2 separate regions of the Homo sapiens genome follow, and region 1 is linked to region 2. Evidence: promoter capture Hi-C in human tissues and cell types (Jung and others, 2019). All regions are on one chromosome and are shown on one strand. Each heading gives the region's core, a stretch centred on a gene start or on the middle of the fragment in contact. The rest is flanking DNA. Distances are from core to core; before and after follow the strand shown.

What was found. The method cuts DNA at HindIII sites, captures the fragments that hold promoters and counts their contacts. A contact is called where the count stands out against the background at its distance.
Region 1: a contact is called between a fragment that was not itself captured here and the fragment with the promoter of EPO in region 2, in 2 of the 25 tissues and cell types used here (liver and mesendoderm cells).

The regions. Positions count from the first base shown.
Region 1 is chr7:100,882,819-100,886,175 of GRCh38, forward strand. SRRT (serrate, RNA effector molecule) reads left to right here. Exons shown (of 20, transcript NM_015908.6): 6 at 1,252-1,421; 7 at 1,550-1,734; 8 at 1,922-2,020; 9 at 2,105-2,222; 10 at 2,395-2,552; 11 at 2,883-2,944; 12 at 3,045-3,123. Among named protein-coding and RNA genes, the nearest start is that of UFSP1, 5.2 kb to the right of the region's middle. RefSeq lists an enhancer at 2,986-3,357. The HindIII fragment of the contact is 4,538 bases long and covers 1-3,357 here.
Region 2 is chr7:100,719,133-100,722,388 of GRCh38, forward strand. EPO (erythropoietin) reads left to right here and starts at 1,336. Exons shown (of 5, transcript NM_000799.4): 1 at 1,336-1,861; 2 at 2,426-2,571; 3 at 2,830-2,916. The coding sequence starts at 1,849. The HindIII fragment of the contact is 31,866 bases long and covers 1-3,256 here.

The DNA of each region.
Region 1 (3,357 bases), core at 437-2,936, 160 kb after region 2:
TCCACCCCCACCATACCCAGCCCATACATGAGCCCCTGGGCTGAGCTGCGCGGCCCCGGCCAGGCAGACAGGCCAGGGCACTGCTGTGCACAATGCAGCGGTTTAGCTGAATGTGATTGCTCAGGCAGCTAGCCAGTCAGGCCCCACTGCGGAGTCCCGCGTGGGCATCTCGGCCGGGCGCCCAGCCAGGAGCCAGCCGGTGGCCCACCAGCCAGCATGGGCCCTGGGCGCCGCTAGTTAAATCTTGAGCTCTGTTTGACCAAGCGGCCAAGGTAAAGATCCTGGAGGTGATGCCTGCGGCTTTCCTTTCCTCTTCTGCCCCACTCGTGGTTCTGTTCTGTCTTCGCTGTCCCCTCTCTCGAATTGCTCTGTGTCTTTGTCCTAATCTCTCAGCACCTTCATTCTTCTCTGTTTCTGTTCTTGCTCCCTGCCTAACACCACCTTCTTCCCTGTTGGTTTTTTTAGTTTCTCTCTCTGATCTTTAGTTTTTCCCTTTGTTTTCGGTTTCTGGGACTTTCTCACACTCTCCCCTTTCCTCCCTTTCCCCTTTTCCTCATACTCCTCATTTCTTCTGTTTTCCCTCTGAGGTCCTATTTGAAATGTTTTATTTTTCTTCTCCCTAACCTTCCAGCCCTCTCCTCTCTCTCCCCCTGTGGGCAGGACCTGAGGCTCTAAAGGGCACTCCAGTGTCTCCCTTCGGTCTTTCCTGTCCCTTCACCGTCTTGCTTATCTTCCCACGGGTGGAGAAAGGTGCCCTGCCTCTGGGCTTTTGCTATCTGGCCCTCTGTCTTCCACCTCGGGGTGGAGGGAGTTGGCGGGAGCAGTTTTTGAATGACTGCAGTTTGGGGTTGGTGAGGAGAGGGAGGTTCTTCAGGGCCTGCTATTTCCTGAGCCTTCCTCTCTGAAGCTTTGGGAAATGACACCTTTTTACTACGTTAGTGTTTCCCAGAGATTTAAAGTGGTAAATCTGCCTCTCCTACCCTGGCGTCCCCCTGTAGTCATTGGTCTTCCCAAATCCAGAGCTCTTAGTTCCTGGTTCTCCCCCAAATCTTCACAGAACACAACTTCTGGTTCCTTTTGGGGTGTTGGGTGGTTCTAGCGCACCCCTATCCCTTAATCTCTCTATTTTGATGACCTTTTGTGGTTGTGAGAGGAAGGGGGATATGCCCTGTCTTTCCTGGGCCCCTTCCCACATCCTGGCCTTGGCTTCCAATAACTGTTTTGTCTTTCCCTCCCCCGCTTCGTTCCCAGGTTTCGGTCTAAGTACCACCCAGATGAGGTGGGGAAGCGTCGGCAGGAGGCCCGGGGGGCCCTGCAAAACCGACTGAGGGTCTTCCTGTCCCTCATGGAGACTGGCTGGTTTGATAACCTTCTCCTGGACATAGACAAAGCTGATGCCATTGTCAAGATGCTGGATGCAGGTGTGCGGATTTGGAGGGGTGGCAGGCATCTGGGCCCCATGGGGGTGGGGGTGTCTGGGGATCAGGTAGAAGCCGGTTGACAGGAGCCAGGGCCCTGGGGTCATGACCTCTGTTCCCTTTGTTGGTAGCCGTGATTAAGATGGAAGGAGGCACGGAGAATGATCTTCGCATCCTGGAGCAGGAGGAGGAGGAGGAGCAGGCAGGAAAGCCTGGGGAGCCCAGCAAGAAAGAAGAAGGACGGGCTGGAGCAGGCCTAGGGGACGGGGAGCGCAAAACCAACGACAAGGATGAGAAGAAGGAAGACGGCAAGCAGGTCCGAGCCCTGGGTCTCCTAGTGTTGTCCCTGGCAGCCTGGGGGAGGGGGGCGGGTAGGGGTCCATAGGAGCTAGAAGTAGGGGGCTGGGGAAAATGAACCTGTGGCCTCAGCTGTGGGGGTGGGGGCCCTCTGATAAAGGTGGGAGGGGAGGTTTGACATCCCCAGTGGTTGTCTCTTACCATAGGCTGAGAATGACAGTTCTAATGATGACAAAACAAAGAAGTCGGAGGGTGATGGGGACAAGGAAGAGAAGAAAGAAGACTCCGAGAAGGAAGCCAAAAAGGTGAGGTGTCTGTGGCCTGGGGTCAGAGTGTTGGGGCTGGGGTTCTGGCACGCTGACTTGTCCCCTCTGCTGTGGCTCACACAGAGTAGCAAGAAGCGGAACCGGAAGCACAGTGGTGACGACAGCTTTGACGAGGGCAGCGTGTCAGAGTCTGAGTCGGAGTCAGAGAGCGGCCAGGCTGAGGAGGAGAAGGAGGAGGCCGGTAGGGTTTCTTTTCTGCTTTAAAGTGCGTTCTCCTAATGCGGGTGGGGAGGTGAGAGGTTGGCGACATTGACGGGAGGGTGGGTGGCTTTTAGGGGAAAGCTTCTGTATCCTCCCCACCACAATCAGTAATAAAAATGCACCAACTCCTTCCTACCCCCCTTCCTGCCTAGAAGAAGCGCTCAAGGAGAAGGAGAAGCCCAAGGAAGAAGAATGGGAGAAGCCCAAGGACGCCGCGGGGCTGGAGTGCAAGCCGCGGCCGCTGCATAAGACCTGCTCCCTCTTCATGCGCAACATCGCGCCCAACATCTCCCGGGCCGAGATCATCTCCGTGAGTGGGGACCCGTGGAGTCAGGGCAGGGCTGATGGAGAAGTGGAGGGTAGAGGGAAGGCAGTGGGGCCCTGCCTGTGACAGATGCCCCCGTTTCACCTGCTAGGGAGGCCCCTTCCCCAGGTTCCATGGCCTCCGAGGACTAGTCCTGATAGCGCCATTGGCTTTCAGGTGCTGGTGTTCTGAAGCCCTTTAGTGGTTTTTCCCTGCCCAAGGATGGGAAGAGTGATAAGGCAGTTAGTCCCTAGGGTTCTGAGGGCAGTGGGGGATTGGAGGAAGAAGCGAATGAATCCTTGAGTCACTGTGGGGCTGCTTTTCTGCTTCTTGCAGCTTTGTAAAAGGTACCCAGGCTTTATGCGGGTGGCGCTCTCAGAGCCCCAGCCAGAGAGGAGGTGAGTAACTCGGTGCGTTGGAGGGAAAAGTGCAGGGGAACGTTAATGGCCAACACCAACTCCCTCGCTTGACTATGCTAACATTTTCTTTCTTGTGTAGGTTTTTCCGTCGTGGCTGGGTGACCTTCGACCGCAGTGTTAACATTAAAGAGATCTGTTGGAACCTGCAGAACATCCGTGTGAGTGCTGGGGGTGGGACTGTGGGGAAGAGGAAGGGAGACTCTGTGCCACACGGGACCTCTGTGTGACTTTGTTCATCTGATAGTTTGGTTGTTCTGCACACTCTTTGACCGTTTTGTCTGGCTACGTTGTCTCTGGGCAAGGCTCTAGGGCGTTAGCATGGACGGAACCTATGTGGTCCCCGTCCCCAGGGAGCTCGCAGTCTGATCAATCGCTGGTGCTCAAGAGGGAAG
Region 2 (3,256 bases), core at 86-2,585:
CTGAGGTCATTGTCACCTCCTCCCTCAAATCTTTCTTGATTTCTCCCGGCTAACTCTTACAGCTCAGATCTACACATTCCAGTCTTTTTTTGTTTTTGAGACAGGCTCTCACTCTGTCGCCCAGGCTGCAGTGCAGTGGCACGATCATGGCTCACTACGGCCTCGAACTCCTGGGCTCAGGTGATCCTCCTGCCTTAGCCTCCTGCATATTTGGGACTACAGGCGTGAGCCACCACACCTGACTAATTATTTTTTATTTATTTATTTATTTTAGAGACAAGGTCTTGCCATGTTGTCCGGGCTGGTCTCGAACTCCTGGGCTCAAAGGATCTTCCTGCCTTGGTCTCCCAAAGTGCTGGGATTATAGGTGTCAGCTGCGGCGCCTGGACCTTTCCTGTCTTTTATGAAACCTGAATGGGATAGGCTGGTAGTTTCACCACACCCATTTGACAGATGAGGACATTGAGGGCTCAAGGACGAGGCCACTTTCTAAGGTGTGAGAGACCAGCTAGTCTTGGTCTCCTGCTCTGGGAATCTCACTCCTCTGGCTCAGGGTTTCCAGAAGCCATAAAACCTTAGCTGTAAATCCCAGCCCCCATCACTCTTGGTGTTAGCTGTATTTCAGTGTTCTTAAGAACTCAGCAATGCAGCCTAGCTAACCTACACCACAGGTCAAATAAACAGATGTCAAGGTGCATGTGTGTCCTGCACAATGGACTGTGTGCTCTGTGCACTAAAAGTTAAGTGTCTGGGGTGGGGGCTGGGTGCGGTGGCTCACGCCTGCAATCCCAGCACTTTGAGAGGCCGAGGAGGGTGGATCACCTGAGGTCAGGAGTTCAAGACCGGTATGGGCAATATGGCAACACCCCATCTCTACTAAAAATACAAAACATAGCCGGGTGTAAAGGTGTGCCTGTAGTCCCAGCTGCTCCAGAGGCTGAAGCAGGAGAATTGCTTGAACCCAGGAGGCAGAGGTTGTAGTGAACGGGAGATGGCACCACTGCACTGCCTGGGCAACATAGGGAGGCTACATCTCCAGAAAAAAAAAAAAAAGTTAAGTGTCTGGGTTTGCAGAGTACTAGACGGTGAGGAGTGAGGTGGGGAGGAAGAACCCCAAATTTCTTGCCCTATTTGCCCCCATCAAATTCCTCAACATGGTCAACATTGTTTCTAGAACATGTCCTGGGATTGTGGGAAGGGAGACCACTCATTTGCCCCTCCCTAAAGCTTCTGGGCTTCCAGACCCAGCTACTTTGCGGAACTCAGCAACCCAGGCATCTCTGAGTCTCCGCCCAAGACCGGGATGCCCCCCAGGGGAGGTGTCCGGGAGCCCAGCCTTTCCCAGATAGCACGCTCCGCCAGTCCCAAGGGTGCGCAACCGGCTGCACTCCCCTCCCGCGACCCAGGGCCCGGGAGCAGCCCCCATGACCCACACGCACGTCTGCAGCAGCCCCGCTCACGCCCCGGCGAGCCTCAACCCAGGCGTCCTGCCCCTGCTCTGACCCCGGGTGGCCCCTACCCCTGGCGACCCCTCACGCACACAGCCTCTCCCCCACCCCCACCCGCGCACGCACACATGCAGATAACAGCCCCGACCCCCGGCCAGAGCCGCAGAGTCCCTGGGCCACCCCGGCCGCTCGCTGCGCTGCGCCGCACCGCGCTGTCCTCCCGGAGCCGGACCGGGGCCACCGCGCCCGCTCTGCTCCGACACCGCGCCCCCTGGACAGCCGCCCTCTCCTCCAGGCCCGTGGGGCTGGCCCTGCACCGCCGAGCTTCCCGGGATGAGGGCCCCCGGTGTGGTCACCCGGCGCGCCCCAGGTCGCTGAGGGACCCCGGCCAGGCGCGGAGATGGGGGTGCACGGTGAGTACTCGCGGGCTGGGCGCTCCCGCCCGCCCGGGTCCCTGTTTGAGCGGGGATTTAGCGCCCCGGCTATTGGCCAGGAGGTGGCTGGGTTCAAGGACCGGCGACTTGTCAAGGACCCCGGAAGGGGGAGGGGGGTGGGGCAGCCTCCACGTGCCAGCGGGGACTTGGGGGAGTCCTTGGGGATGGCAAAAACCTGACCTGTGAAGGGGACACAGTTTGGGGGTTGAGGGGAAGAAGGTTTGGGGGTTCTGCTGTGCCAGTGGAGAGGAAGCTGATAAGCTGATAACCTGGGCGCTGGAGCCACCACTTATCTGCCAGAGGGGAAGCCTCTGTCACACCAGGATTGAAGTTTGGCCGGAGAAGTGGATGCTGGTAGCTGGGGGTGGGGTGTGCACACGGCAGCAGGATTGAATGAAGGCCAGGGAGGCAGCACCTGAGTGCTTGCATGGTTGGGGACAGGAAGGACGAGCTGGGGCAGAGACGTGGGGATGAAGGAAGCTGTCCTTCCACAGCCACCCTTCTCCCTCCCCGCCTGACTCTCAGCCTGGCTATCTGTTCTAGAATGTCCTGCCTGGCTGTGGCTTCTCCTGTCCCTGCTGTCGCTCCCTCTGGGCCTCCCAGTCCTGGGCGCCCCACCACGCCTCATCTGTGACAGCCGAGTCCTGGAGAGGTACCTCTTGGAGGCCAAGGAGGCCGAGAATATCACGGTGAGACCCCTTCCCCAGCACATTCCACAGAACTCACGCTCAGGGCTTCAGGGAACTCCTCCCAGATCCAGGAACCTGGCACTTGGTTTGGGGTGGAGTTGGGAAGCTAGACACTGCCCCCCTACATAAGAATAAGTCTGGTGGCCCCAAACCATACCTGGAAACTAGGCAAGGAGCAAAGCCAGCAGATCCTACGGCCTGTGGGCCAGGGCCAGAGCCTTCAGGGACCCTTGACTCCCCGGGCTGTGTGCATTTCAGACGGGCTGTGCTGAACACTGCAGCTTGAATGAGAATATCACTGTCCCAGACACCAAAGTTAATTTCTATGCCTGGAAGAGGATGGAGGTGAGTTCCTTTTTTTTTTTTTTTCCTTTCTTTTGGAGAATCTCATTTGCGAGCCTGATTTTGGATGAAAGGGAGAATGATCGAGGGAAAGGTAAAATGGAGCAGCAGAGATGAGGCTGCCTGGGCGCAGAGGCTCACGTCTATAATCCCAGGCTGAGATGGCCGAGATGGGAGAATTGCTTGAGCCCTGGAGTTTCAGACCAACCTAGGCAGCATAGTGAGATCCCCCATCTCTACAAACATTTAAAAAAATTAGTCAGGTGAGGTGGTGCATGGTGGTAGTCCCAGATATTTGGAAGGCTGAGGCGGGAGGATCGCTTGAGCCCAGGAATTTGAGGCT